Regions from separate parts of the Homo sapiens genome. Here regions 2, 3, 4 and 5 are each linked to region 1. Evidence: promoter capture Hi-C in 16 types of primary human blood cells and fetal thymus (Javierre and others, 2016). All regions are on one chromosome and are shown on one strand. The core of a region is centred on a gene start or on the middle of the fragment in contact, and the rest is flanking DNA. Distances in the headings are between cores, read along the strand shown.

Region 1 (2,802 bases), core at 188-2,687:
ATTTTGTTTGTATAAGATGTTTGCCTGGTACGCTGACTTCAGAACCTCATCCTGCCCAAGAGTCTGAACACCACAGTTGGTACAACCCTGTTTTGGCGTTTCTTTGATGGGAGGGTGTGGCCCTGCCCTGTTGCCAGAGAGAACGCAGGTGCTGGGTGCACAGCACGGCTTTTCCGTGGACCGACTCTAATCTGTACAAGAGCTCAGGGTTGCGATGGCACGGGAGAGGGGCTTTGGTATCCGCCCTACGTAAGAAGCTTCCAACCCCAGGGAACTCTAACTCCGCCTCTTCACAATTTCCAGGCGCCGTCAGGCTCATCAGGTCTGGCCGCATGCCCAGGTCCCTCGGATTGGACTCACAGGATCAGCAGCCCGTAGCCTTCTTTGCGGTAGTCGCGATAGGCCTTCCACGGTTTGATCTCCAGCCGCTGCGGGTACGCGCTCTCGGTGCGGTACAGCGCTTCCAGCAGGCATGGCGAGCCCAGGTGCACCGACTCAAAGGAACCCAACTTCATGCGGAAAATCTTGCCATACTTCTTGTGGTACTCCACCTGCAGCCGGCCGGGCACAGCGCGGTGTCAGCGCGCATCCTCCGCCGTGCCCGAAGCGCTTTCCCTCCTCCCGCCTCCTTCCTCCTAGGGGACCGGGGACCCTCCCTGCCCAGACGCCGAAGCGCACCATGCGCCCGAGGCGCGCATGTCGGGGAGGGTTTGGAGCGCCACTGGGAGGGCGGAAGAGGGAGGAGAGAGTCAGGGGCGCGAAAAGGGGTTTACCAGGGTGTCGTGCTGTTTCTTGAGACCCCCTTTCCAGAGAATCTGCAGCAGGCTGCCCAGCAGTGGCCAGCTGGTGGGGCCCGGCAGGGCGGCCGCGTTCTGAGTCTCGCCACCAGCTGTCAGCGGGCAGACTGGCACCTCTCGCGGCTGAGGGGACGTGTACGCCGTAGATGTCACCAGTCTCGGGGGCTGCCTCGGACTGCGCAGCTGCTGCAGGAAGGCGGCAAGCGAGCGGCTCTTGCTGATGGGGGAGCTCATGGCAGCGGGGGACACCGGAGCGCGGGAAGGCAGGAGGATGGGGTGGGGCGAGGTTGGTACGAGGTGCTAGTGGGAGTCGGGGCTTAACGATTCTGGGAAAAGGAAGCAAAGAGGGCCAGCTGGTGTGATGGAGCGGGGTGAGGCGGGACAGGCAGCAGAAAGGACCTCGGCGAGGATGCTCGACGCTGCACCACGCGACAGCCTCAGAGCATTGGTGCCTCCTTGCACTGGCCGCAGGGGCTGGAAGAGGGTGGCCGGTGTCTGGGGACCTCTTGAAAAGGGAAAGCTGGGAGTCCTCCTGTTGGTCCGCAAGGCTGACCTCTAGGGTCTGGCTGGAGCCACGGGGAGGTGTCAAGGAGGGTAGATGAGATGCTGCTGGCGCTGCGTTTCCTCCTGTCCCTCTCCATGTTCCTATGCCCAGGGACCATGCATTTATGGAGACAGAGCATGCCCTGGGTGGCCAATGAGCACGCAGAGGAGGGCGGAGTGGCCCCCGGCTGGCCAGACTCCGAGGGACGCGGGACCCAGGGGAGGGGGGGTGGAAGGAGGATGGAGTCAGCGAGGTGAGCGAGGGCGTCCGGGCCTGGGGTGACCGGGGCTATGTTCGCTGGGCGCGGGAGGTGGGGTGGGGGCGGCAGACTCCACCCCGGAGATAACCCCCAGGAAGTCATGCGAAGCCCGGAGTTCACCGGGTGTGCTTCGAACGCGCCTCCCCGCCCTCCCCCGGCGGGCAGGAGCCGGCAGCGGCGGCCGTGGTTGCCGCCCGGCGCTTGCACAATCGCGATGCCGGGCGGGCGAGGTCCCCGAGTGCGGGCCCAGAAAAGCTGCCGGCGTCTGCCAGGGCCCCGGGGAGCCCGGGCGCCTCCCGGGGAGCCAGATACCCCCAGCCTGGACTGAAGTGATTTTTTTTTTTTTTTTGCCTTTTTTTTTTTGGAGGAAGTTTGGCTTTCTGCGCCTCCCAGGGTGGGGAGGATTTGAGTCTTACTGAAATGCACCAGAAGAGGAGACTTTCTTAACTTGAGCAAGAAGGGGAGTTTGTAGAATTTCCTTCCTGCTGTTTCATGTTTGGTTGTTTTGCAGATTAAATGAATTAATGCACGTAAAGCGGCAACAACGAAGCCTTGTCTATAGTCAACAGTCAATAAAAGTTAGTTGCTGTTGTTACTTCTTTAGGAAGTTAGGAAATGCGCCTTGAGAGCGTGGCTTGCACCAACGATGCTTGAATTCAGGCTGGGCCACCTCCCCTATGTCCACTGCCCGCCTCTGTTCTTCTACACCGACTACCTTGTGCAAAGGAGGGGCACACAGAGCTTGAAACCACCGCCCCCAGTACTCCCCCTCTCCCCCAAGGTGCGTCCTAGGCAGGTCCAGTGACAAACATACACAATTTCTAGAGTTACCGCGGCTGGCAAGAGTAGAACTCGCTTTGCTAATTCAGGAACGGAAGTTGGAGATTTTTGTTGATTGTTTTAAAGTGGCTCGAATCCTTTCAACCTGATCCAATACAAAACTACCACCAGCCAGGGAGGAGGGGAGGGACATTCTGTTTCCTCGCCCTGCTTTTCAATTACGTGTCTCAGTCATTTTTGCCCCAAGTGTTGGCAAATCCTTCCCTGGTAAATTCTTTTGTAAGCCTCTAGTTTGTTTCTTAAAAATCTTTTGCAGTCCAACTTAAGCTTTAACACCATCATTTCTGATTTGTCTGGAGGGGCTAATGACTGTTTATGTTAATAAAAATAATAGCTATTGATATATACTAAACTTTATGAAT
Region 2 (2,802 bases), core at 166-2,665, 800 kb before region 1:
CTTTAATGCAAAGATGGTAAGGCAGTGTTCTTTGTGTTGGAAAGTTATTGTGTCGATTCCTTGAAATTTTTTTTAATCTGATCTGTGAAATCCAGAAGTCTGGGAATGTCAGGAGACGTCTGGTGGCATTCTGTAGGTGGGAGTGTCACGGTGTCGTAGGAAGTTCAGGAATCTGAAGTCTGTGTCCCAGCCATCCTCTGTTCCAGACATGCTGGGTGACAGTAGGCAAGGAATTTCTATTTCTGGGTTTCACTTTTCTAGTCTCTAAAATTCAGAGAGCAGCTTTAAAGAATCCTGAGCCGACGAGGGCATGAAGGACATGGAAAGCCTGAGAGGAAAGCCAAGGAGTCAGGCAGGTGGACTTCCCGGAGGAGGGGACCTGGGGAGCTGCTCTGGGCAGGCTCTTTGTGAAGGGAGAGCAGCCCTGCTCAGTTTCTCCGTGGAAAGTCTCAGGGTTACCATCTCCGCCTCAAATTTTTCAAAAAGAAACAGAAATCATGGTTTTTATGTTAAATCTCTCCGTTCATAAATATTAGCAACCGCTTTAATTAAAAACTAAACAAGGCCAGGCATTGTGGCTCACACCTGTGATCCCAGCACTTTGGAAGACCGAGGCAGACGGATAGATTGAGCCCAGGAGTTTGAGACCAGCCTGGGCAACATAGCAAGACCCCATCTCTACAAAAAAATTTTTAAAAATTAGCCAGGCATGGTGGCATGCATCTGTGGTCCCAGATACTCAGGGGGCTGAGGTGGGAAGATCGGTTGAGGCCAGGAGTTCAAGGCTGCAGTGAGCCGTGATGATGACACTGCACTCCAGCCTGGGCGACAGGGCAAGACCTTATCTCAAAAAACAAAACAAAACCACGTGAGCCCATAAAACACATTTGTGGGTTGGGTTTGGCTGAGGGATGGCACGTTCATTTCCTGGAGCTGCTATAACAAATTACTACAAACTCAGTGGCTTAAAACAGCAGAAATTAATTCTCTCGCAGTTGTGGACGCTGGAGGTTGGAAATCAAGGTGAAGGCAAGGCCACACTCCCTCTGAAGATGCTAGGGATGAGCCCATCCTGGCCTCTTCCAGCTTCTGGTGTTCCTTGGGTTGCGGCCGCATCGCTCCAGCTTCTGCTTCCTTGTTCAAACAGCTTTCTCCATGGGTCTCCGTCCTCTCTTCTTATAGGACTGTCAGTCATTGCTTTTCGGGCCTACCTCATCTTAACTGAATTACACCTGCAAAGACTCCATTTCCAAATAAGGTCCCATTCACAGGTAGGAGGGGTCAGGACTTGAGCCTGTGTTCTTGGGAGGACAGAATTCAAGCCACCATGATGGATATGACCTCTATTATAAATTATTCAGTATAGAGACTCTGGCCTAGGAATCTGGGAACCACCGAATGATTAAAAGCTGCTCTGTAAAGTTTACAAAATCTGTCTCTCCAGGAAGTGAATGATGAATGTGAGAGAGTTCATACGGGTTTCCAAACAGGATTGTCCTGGCTGCAAGACCCAGGTCAAGTCAGACACATTCTAGTCTTCAGAACAGTGTTAGGCGGTGTATTTGTTTCCTGGGATGGCTGTATGAAGGACCACACACTGGGTGACACAGGGCAACAGAAATGTGCTCTCTCACAGTTCTGAAGGACAGAGTCTGCCATCAAAAGTCAGCAGGAGCTGGGGAGGAGGGGGTGGCTCACGCCTATAATCCCAGCACTTTGGGAGGCCGAAGTGGGCGGATCACTTGAGACCAGGAGTTTCAGACCAGCCTGGCCAACATGATGAAACCCCATCTCTACTAAAAATATAAAAGTTAGCGGGGCATGGTGGCACATGCCTGTAGTCCCAGCTACTCCAGAGGCTGAGGTACAAGAATTGCTTGAACCCAGGAGGCGGGTGTTGCAGTGAGCTGGATCATGCCACTGCACTCCAATCTGGACTACAGAGAGAGACTCCGTCTCAAAAAAAAAAAAAAGAAAAAAAAAAGAGTCAGCAGGACATGCTCCCTCAGAAGGCTCTAGAAAAGGAGTCTTCCTGCCTCTAACTTCCCCGTGACTCCCAACAATCCCTGGTGCCCCTCGGCTTGTGGCAGCATCACTCAATATCTGCCTCCTTCTCTGTGTTTCTGTGTCCTCAGTCATTGAATTAGGGCCCACCCTAATTGAGTCTGACCTCATCTTAATTACAAATGGGAAGACCCTATTTCCAAATAAGGTCACATTCTGAGGTTCCAAACGGCCATCAATTTTGAGGTGACTCTCTTCAGTCAGTACTCAGTTCAGGCCGAGTGCAGTGGCTCATGCCGTAATCCTAGCACTTTGGGAAGTCAAGGCAGGCGGACCACTTGAGGTCAGAAGTTTGCGACCAGCCTGGCCAACATGGTGAAACCCCATCTCTACTGAAAAAAGAAAAAATTAGCCAGGCGTAGTGTCACGCACCTGTAGTCCCAGCCACTCGGGAGGCTGAGATAGGAAAATCGCCTGAACCCAAGAAGCAGAGGTTGCAGTGATCGGAGATCACACCACTACACTCCAGCCTGGGTGACAGAGTGAGATCTTGTCTCAAAAAAATAAAGAAGGAAGAAAGGAAGGAAGGAAAGAAGGAAGGAAGGGAGGGAGGAAGGGAAGGAAGGACCCAGTTTATTCACCCAATACCAGTTCTCTTGTCTCCAAGGTCTCTTCCATCTGCCTGTCTCTGTGACTCTAACTTTCCTATCTTTCCTTGAGAGTCTTTGCTGGCCTTTCCATTCAGCCATTTTCTTAAGGAACTTTCATCAACTTCCAAACGCCCCCACCAATCTAAAG
Region 3 (2,802 bases), core at 169-2,668, 750 kb before region 1:
AATAAAACTTTATTTGTGAACACTGAAATTTGAATTGCAGGTAGTGTTTATGTCATAAAACGTTCTTTTGTTTTTTTTTTTCTCACCATCTAAAAATATAAACATTATTCTTAACACCTGGGTCATACAGAAACAGGTAGCAGGCTGAATTTGGTCCATCCCTCCCTTACATAGAACATGACAAAAAAGGGAATTCCTGCTGTCTCCAAAAAAACCCATAAATTCCCACTTTTCTATCCTTAAGATGAAAGAAATTACCCTCGATATTGGGAACTCAGTTCAGTTACCACTATAGGAATTAATCTACCAATATCTGAACTTCTGGAATGTTCTGTTTACCTAGCCCAGGATAAACAGGGGAGGACAAACTCCGAGTAACTGAGTGCTGGCTTTTTTTCTTTTCCTGCTATGACTTCATGAAAGGGTTGTTTACGGTAGGAAGTAACCAATGATTTTGATTGCTTCAGGACTTCCTGGTTAAAAAATAAAATGGAGAAGAAGAAAGAGGAAAGTCCTCAAGTTGTAAGCTTTGGAAATACAAAGCCCTCAGGTCCTGTGTAAAATTGAACATGAAAAATAGGCCTCTAATTTCTGTCCTCTCTCCCTAAGCAGTCAACCATTGGAGAAGGTGACTGGGGGAGACCCTTGGCTCAGAACTTCTTGGTGGTTATAAATTCTTTATCAACTATGGCTTATGTTTTTACAGGGAATTTTCTTCTTCCTCTTCTTCTTTTTTTAAGTTACGGTGATCACAATTTTCAGATTTTTGACTACTTATCAAACTTTTTTTCCCTCCCCCTCTTAACAGAGAAGGTCAGTCACTTTTAAGATATAAGAGAATTTGAGAACAGATTAATGACAAAGATAAATGATGATTTTTATTTTAGCGGAAGTTTCAGCGCGTTTTCTGCCCAGCCTGGGTACTGCTAATAAAGTATACTTGACATATAACTGCGTAAGTTCTTTGCTTTAAAGTTCAATGATGGATCAAAAGAGAGAATTCTCTCTTTAGAAAGAAATGTCCTGGAAGGAAAAATAAAAGGAAGGTGGAGGGGAAGCTCATACATCCCTTTTGTCTTTTTCTCTTCTCTTTGTGGCCCAGAGACAGAGCATTGAGTGACTTCTTCAGAAAAGAGATCAGTGAAATTGTCAGTTGATTACTTCTCCTTGATTAGCATTTATAAGAGCCCTGTGATACAGTATTTGCATTCCTATTTAGCCGTGATTTTTGTGGGGCACCAATGATTAAACTTGTCACAGGGCTTGATTGACGGGGTCAGATCTTCACTTTCTACTCTTTTGAAATTAAAAACAAATGTGTCAGCTCCCTTCATGGGCTGGAGCGCCGTGAAGCTCGCCTGCCTTGTCATTGCAGATAGGTCAGGAATGTTTTAATTTTAGGGATGGATTCTGCTTGTCAAGTAGAGTGTGATGGCGTGTGGTTCTGGAGATGAGATGTGAAGGGTGTAGCACAAAGAAGGGGAAGAACAAAGACAAAGACACTCACATTATTAGACAGATTTAATTAGTCTGAATGGATATTATGCTAGATGAAGCAGTGAGCTGTGAAATTAACCCTTGATTACGGATTGGCGGATCCTACTCATAAAGAGAATCAAACCTTTGTGGAGAGACGCGAGGTATGATTTCAGTTTCTCCTACCCTTCCGGGTTGCATGCCAGATCCCCACCCCCACCACCCACCCCTGTCGACTTAAACACCAGAATCTGTAGGGGGAAAAAAACTGTGGAAGTTCATCTTTAACTTGAGCAGGCAGGTATACCTAGAAAAGGAATTCCACCTGGCTTCCTCTCTTCAACTTTAGAGAAAGCAACAAGCCCAGGGTGGTTGGATGTGAAGCTAAGAGGCTCACAAAGACACAGATTTCTGAATCCAAAATAGAGAACAGAAATAGCTAAGTTTGAATAAGAGCCATGTATTTTGAGGGTCTGAAGTGAATAGCTCTATCCACTGCAGTAGAGGGTCACCTCCCGGGAATGTTTGTCCTTCATACAATGTGCCCCCCAACTTACTGCTGCCTTTCCATGGTCTTCTCCAGTGAATCCCAGCTGCATCCTGACTTCCAAGAACTTCAAGCATGTTAAGAAAGGGATGGAAGGCCTAGAGCCCTCACCCAGCATTGATGGTCAACTAAGAAAAGTCTCTCAAACATTAATACTAAGGACTCTAACATGGAGGGGGACATGGGCGAGATGGGTCTGAGATCATGTGGCCTTCCAGAAATCCTTTAACTTATCCAAATTATCTGATTTGGCACACTCTGGACTCTACTGATAAAGGCTTTGTACAAAGCTTGCACCAACTAACATCTCTATTTTTAAGTGACTCAGTCCAAATCATTCTCCAGCACTGATTCCAGGAATGAGAAGTCTCTGTGGGGGCATGATGTGGAGGAGAAGTATCTGTTAGGCTGGCCCAGGTCATGTGGAAAGTCAGCAAATTAGGAAATGCAGAAATGGAGTTAGAGAATTTGCTCCGCAGCTCTTTCACAAACTCAGTCTTCTCGTTGGTGAATGAGATGTGTAGCTCCTTCTTTAACAATTGTGCTGAAATCTTAACTGTGTACTTTAAGTGCCAAGAAAGGCACTGTGTATTATTATTATAGCTCTCTGTAGAAAACATGGCACTAATTCTAAGTCACTTTTCTGGCTCTGTCTCCATCCAGTCTTCCTTATCACAGTTTCCCACTTTGATGTATAAGTGGCTTCAGTTTGGGGAACTCCTGGTTGAGGAATTCCCTGAACAAACAATTTCCAAGTGTGGTCTTGAGACTCTGAATCA
Region 4 (2,802 bases), core at 93-2,592, 720 kb before region 1:
GGGTAGCCTGAAAATAAAGGTTCAAATTATAGTCAAGAATAGTCAAGACATGGGCAAGACAAGAGTGCTGTCATCAAGTGTGAAGAACAAAGGGAAGTCAGTAACCCCAGATGACTAATGAAGGGGACAGGAGCAGCTTCAGCTGCAGTTCATGCAATGGGTCTAGGCAAGTGGCTTAGGGCTGAACTGTGCACAGTGTAAGGGGCTTAGAGGACCTACTTTATGTGGCCCAGGGGCCAGACTTAGAGTTCAAGGGAGAATTTGAGCCCATCTCTTATTAGTTACAGGAATTTAACACCATCTCTTATTACCTACAAGAACTAGAGCAGGCCAAGCGTGGTGGCTCACGCCTGTAGTCCCAGCACTTTGGGAGGCCGAGGCAGGTAAATCACTTGAGGTCAGGAGTTCAAGACCAGCCTGGCCAACGTGGTGAAACCCCATCTGTACTAAAAATACAAAAATTAGCTGGGCATGGTAAAGTGTACCTGTAATCCCAGCTACTCGGGAGGCTGAGGCAGAGAATTGCTTGAACCTGGGAGGTGGAGCCTGCAGTGAGCTAAGATTGAGCCACCGCACTCTAGCCTGGGTGACACAGTGAGACTCTGTCTCAAAAAAAAAAAAAAAAAGGAACTAGAACAAATCAATCACTGTATCTCTCTGAGCCCACTGAGCCCATTGACTTCACATGCAAAATGGGGTTATATATCAACACGTACCCCTACAACAAGATAGCATAGTATAAAACAATATTATGTGTGTGAAGGAGGTACATGTTTCTTCCAAGTTCTACTCAGTTCTTCTAAGAAGCTTCTACTCAGACATGAGTTCTGCCTGTTGTTTGTGTTTTTCTCAAGGAACGTTTAGTGTTGTATTGCTGTTAGATTGCTGCCTTACATATCCTCCATTGACTAGAAGCTTCTTGAAGGGAAGAAGCATGTCTTATTCACCGTAATTTTGTCGAGCTTCTGGTAGCATGCAGGTTGAGTCGGGAGATAAAAATGCCAGGCCTTCAGGGGTTTGATGTATGAATGAGGACCATGAGATTATAAATCAGCTACAAGGCTCCATGTGATCTCTCCATAAGCATCCACTCCTTGGAAGCTGTCTGACTTTATTCGTCTGTATGGCACAAAAGAGACACTTGGTAAATATTGAATGAACTGATGAATGAATGAATGAATTCGCCTTTGGTTAGGCATAGCAATAAAGAAAATGAAATTTAACTTTGTCTTCTAGACTTTGAATGCCTCTGCCAACAACTAAATATCTTCCAGGGAGGGCAGATGGCGGCCTGTACAATGAACAATTTAATCTTTAGAAACTGGAACAACTTTGCCAGCAAACTCCATTTTTCTCTACGAACACATTGTCAATAACATGTGCTCTCAAATATGTGGTGAAATTGATGACTGGGCCCTGATTTATAGAAACAACAACAAATTAAATGTTTACCTTTCTCTTTCCTAGCTTGGGGTCCTTCAGACCAGCCATGAATTTTTTTTTCCTGTGCTCTAATAATAGAGGAGGTTTAATTACAATGCTCCATCGTGTGATTGTGTGTGGAGTGGAAGCAAAGCAAAATGTCCAGGGTATCTTAATTTAAAACCAGGAGGGGAAAAGCCACTTATGTGATAATGAAGATTAACGTAGGGAGCCGCTGGCTCTCCCTTCTCACATAAAAGCAGATATTGGGGGAATCCTTCATACAAACATTTCTGTGACCACTCATTTAGCCTCTTGTAGGAAATCTTCTTGATTTTGGACAAACTCGAAGCTTTAGATTTGCTTGAAAATAGGCCAGGGTAGGAGAGGGATGCCCAGAGAAATGGAATTCTCCAAACAGTAATCAGGCTACATGTTTGGGACTATTCCTGGGAATGACAGACTGGTTTGGAAGAAGTCACCATCCTAGGACCTCTTCTTCTAGAATGGTGGCTCTGAACTCCTACTTGGGTCAAGAGCCTTTTTGAAAATATCATGAGAGCTACAGATTCTCTCTCCAGGAAAATCAAGTCTACCTATAACTTCATATACACACATGCACCAAAATGCTAAATTCTGCTTACAATGTCATCTCTTGTCTTTGCCATAAACTTAAACAACTTGAGTGACAATTGCTACTGAAAATTCCAGGCTTCACCAACCTTTCTGTGATGCTCATCCAAGATTAAGAACTGCTAGACTTAGAGGACCCTTGGTTTCTTTAGGCCACAAAACTGCTTAACTGTCTTAGGCTGTGGACTTCTTTGGCTGTCTGATGAAACCCGTGGAGCCCTTTAAAATGTCTTTAAAGGCCAGGCGTGGTGGCTCACACCTGTAATCCCAGCACTTTGGGAGGCCAAGGCAGGCAGATCACGAGGTCAGGATTTTGAGACCAGCCTGGCCAATATGGTGACACCCCATCTTTACTAAAAATACAAAAATTAGCCGGGCATGGTGGCACGTGCCTGTAGTCCCAGCTACTCGGGAGGCTGAGACAGAAGAATCACTTGAACCCAGGAGGTGGAGGTTGCAGTGAGCTGAGATCGTACCACTGCACTCCAGCCTGGGTGACAGAGTGAAACTTGGTCTCAAAAAAAAAAAAAAAGTCTTTAAAAACTAATGTTAAATGTGTTAATGTGGCTGTCCCTTTCCCATCCTTCAGGTCTTCATTCAGATGTCACTCCCTCAGAGAGGGCTCCCTCTCCCCTTTCTCAAAGTAGCCCCATCAGAACTGAAACCCTCCCAATTGTCCCATAGAATGGATGGTTATGGTTTCTTTTGAGTAAACATAGAAATTGACTCTCCCAGTCAATTTGAGAA
Region 5 (2,802 bases), core at 125-2,624, 610 kb before region 1:
TAAAGACGGGGTTTCGCCATGTTGGCCAGGCTGGTCTCAAACTCTTGGTTTCAAGTGATCCACCCGCCTTGGCCTTCCAAAGGGCTGGGATTACAGGCGTGAGCCACGTGCTGGCCTTAAAATTGTGTTTATAAGCCAGGCATGATGGCTCGATACTCGGGAGGCCGAGAGCTGGAGGATCAGTTGAGCCCAGGGGTTCAAGGCTGCAGTGAGCTGTGATTGCACCACTGCACTCCAGCCTGAGTGACAGAGCAGGAGCACATCTCAAAAAAAAAAAAAAGAAAGAAAACTAAAAAGTTAAATAAAACAAAATCAGAAACCAGAAACACAATAAACACTAAAACTCAAGATTGCAAAACACCAAATCTATATTTACACTTCCACATATAATAACATAACTTTAAGCTGAAATATATCATAAATAAAACAAGTAATGTCTACTGTTCGACAACTTAAGTATCAACAATTAAAATAAATCAAACTGGAATGAAATAAATACATAAACAAAAATCCAACGAATTGTACCTCTATTATATGTACTGTTGTCTCAAAGAAAAAAAAATATAAAACCAGTAGTATACCAATAGTTAATACTGATGGACACAAAAACATATTTTGAAGTACAAAGGGCTGTAGGAAAATAATTGGTATTTTTATACATTCAGAAATGTGGTTAAAAAGAGAAATCTGAAAGCCCAAAAAATTCCAGCATAATACAAATCGACTTGTTTTCAAATAGATTTGGTGATTCTTTTTTTTAAATACAGGTTTAAATTCCAGCCCTCTATTATCACATACCCCCTTTAAGATTTATGGTTCTAGTCACAGCAAGCTCTCTGTAACACTCATTGGATTAGGCAAAGATTGAGTCAATCATCTTGCAAATGTGTTAATCTTCAAAAATAGGCTATAAAAGTGCAAAACTATGAAAACAAAATCTAGATTATGTACATATGGCTCAGCTTGTGAACAGGAAAAAAGGTCAATAGTGTACACTTTCCTGATACAAAGCACTTCATTGCAATGCCAACAGACTGATCTCAAATGAGTTCTCCCTTGTAACACAGGAGCTAAGACTTCTATCAAGGAGGACATCTTACGTTGCATAATTTAAAAAAAAAAAATTTTTTCTAGGATTACCCTTGCTCTATGGAGAACAGCGAGGCCAGAAAAATGAACAGTGCAAATTTATTTTTGAAACAGTTTCTTAATAAAATATTTTGTGGTCACTAAGCCCATGTACTAATAAACTCAGCCATGGACAGCATATTAAAGAACAAAAGTTTAAAATATCTAGGAAGCCAGCTGGTGGCCATCTTCTCTAAAACCCAAATTGCATGTGCACTGAGAAAAATGTTACTGCTTCAAAACAACCAAAAATGGGAAAATAACTGAGGTCTAGAAACAGATTTTCTCTTTCTAGACTCCCAGCGGGCTCGGCCAGCAGTTCCTTATTCAAAATCAATGTGTCTATAATCAACTCTAGTATGTCCACAGTTCACCCAAATGCCAGATACATTAAGACTACCAAATACAAACCTAAAATGTTCCCCCCAAAATTTCCCTTAAAACTGTTCCCCAATACCTGCAATTCACAGATATAATTTAGCATTTTTGTTTTTATATACTAATTTAGGCAAAACCCCCCCGCCACTGAATCGTCCAACAAAAATGATTAATTTGACAGAAACAAATTTAAATAACTGCACATACAGTTTATGTTTATACAACGTGTGGCTGCTCTACAGAGAAAATGCTTGTCTGTAGACACACTCTCTTAAAAATCCTACAAGCCATCCCAACGCCCTCAGTCAAGGATCCTGGAGGTTCCAGGACAATCTGGAGAGGCGAGGAAGAAGGTGCCTTCCCCATCTGAGATGCTCAAAGTTGCGATAAAATGCTGCCAGCTTCCGAATGGCTGACCTCGATATCTGCAGCACATATCATAGAGGGTCAATACTTCCATTAACAATTTTAAGACAACAATAGATTTGGGTGGATTCAACATAATACAAAATCATTGACAGTTTAAAAAAAAAAAAACATACATTTTAAATGAAAGAGCACAATAGCAGAAACTGCTCCAAGTGATGAGCTGCATTAGAGAAAAGGAATACACACAGTATTTGAACAAGCAGGTTTACAACTTAGATATTTACAGATTTTTACCTGAGGTGCAAGCATTATATACTTTTCCCCCATCCCGCCCCACCCAACCCAAATGATTTCTTTTCAGCAGCGCTCAAGTATGCAAAAATTCCACTTCTTATTTGGTCAATTCTAAGAAAAATATTATTCAGGGACAAAATAGAGATTTCCAGTCCCCATGTATGTAAGTTCCAACTGTTCCAACTAGTTTGTATTGCTATTTGGTACAAAAGTTAACAGAACAACTTTACACAACTGTAGTGTTCCTTGCAGATTCCTCATATGTTTTATGTACAGTACAATCACAGCTTATTTCAGTAGCTTTCACCATTCGCTTCTCAAAGGATGAAGTAAAATTTAATTTCATGGGGAGTAAGCACTGACATCCACCAAGACCTAAGGAAAACAACATTTTTTAAATGATTAAGATCAAAACTGAATACAGTTTAGAAAATTCTTTCTTTAAAAAAGCGTAATACATAGAACCAAACTGACCTAGAAATGCAATGGGTTCTATTTGTTGTTGTTGTTTTTGAGACAGTCTCACTCTGTCGCCCAGGCTGGAGTGCAGCGGCACGATCTTGGCTCACTGCAACCTCTACCTCCCAGGTTCAAGCGATTCTCCTGCCTCAGCCTTCCAAGTAGCTGGGACTA

What was found. The method cuts DNA at HindIII sites, captures the fragments that hold promoters and counts their contacts. A CHiCAGO score of 5 or more calls a contact.
Region 2: a fragment that was not itself captured here is called in contact with the fragment with the promoter of CYP24A1 in region 1 in 1 of 17 cell types (neutrophils); the score reaches 7.1 in neutrophils.
Region 3: a contact is called between a fragment that was not itself captured here and the fragment with the promoter of CYP24A1 in region 1, in 1 of 17 cell types (total CD8 T cells). The highest score is 5.7, in total CD8 T cells.
Region 4: a contact is called between a fragment that was not itself captured here and the fragment with the promoter of CYP24A1 in region 1, in 1 of 17 cell types (neutrophils). The highest score is 5.1, in neutrophils.
Region 5: a fragment that was not itself captured here is called in contact with the fragment with the promoter of CYP24A1 in region 1 in 4 of 17 cell types (monocytes, megakaryocytes, neutrophils and 1 more); the score reaches 7.1 in monocytes.

Annotation. Positions count from the first base shown.
Region 1 is chr20:54,172,549-54,175,350 of GRCh38, forward strand. CYP24A1 (cytochrome P450 family 24 subfamily A member 1) reads right to left here and starts at 1,438. Exons shown (of 12, transcript NM_000782.5): 1 at 774-1,438; 2 at 361-551. The coding sequence starts at 1,031. RefSeq lists an enhancer at 1,068-1,661. The HindIII fragment of the contact is 2,450 bases long and covers 256-2,705 here.
Region 2 is chr20:53,369,916-53,372,717 of GRCh38, forward strand. All of the region lies in intron 2 of TSHZ2 (teashirt zinc finger homeobox 2), which reads left to right. Among named protein-coding and RNA genes, the nearest start is that of TSHZ2-AS1, 130 kb to the right of the region's middle. The HindIII fragment of the contact is 2,991 bases long and covers 1-2,802 here.
Region 3 is chr20:53,425,732-53,428,533 of GRCh38, forward strand. The region is part of intron 2 of TSHZ2 (teashirt zinc finger homeobox 2); the gene reads left to right. Among named protein-coding and RNA genes, the nearest start is that of TSHZ2-AS1, 77 kb to the right of the region's middle. The HindIII fragment of the contact is 1,786 bases long and covers 526-2,311 here.
Region 4 is chr20:53,451,990-53,454,791 of GRCh38, forward strand. The region is part of intron 2 of TSHZ2 (teashirt zinc finger homeobox 2); the gene reads left to right. TSHZ2-AS1 (TSHZ2 antisense RNA 1) reads right to left here. Exons shown (of 6, transcript NR_187667.1): 4 at 948-1,119. Among named protein-coding and RNA genes, the nearest start is that of TSHZ2-AS1, 51 kb to the right of the region's middle. The HindIII fragment of the contact is 859 bases long and covers 914-1,772 here.
Region 5 is chr20:53,566,721-53,569,522 of GRCh38, forward strand. ZNF217 (zinc finger protein 217) reads right to left here. Exons shown (of 6, transcript NM_006526.3): 6 at 351-2,544. The region is part of intron 3 of ZNF217-AS1 (ZNF217 antisense RNA 1); the gene reads left to right. Among named protein-coding and RNA genes, the nearest start is that of ZNF217-AS1, 15 kb to the left of the region's middle. The HindIII fragment of the contact is 4,272 bases long and covers 1-2,802 here.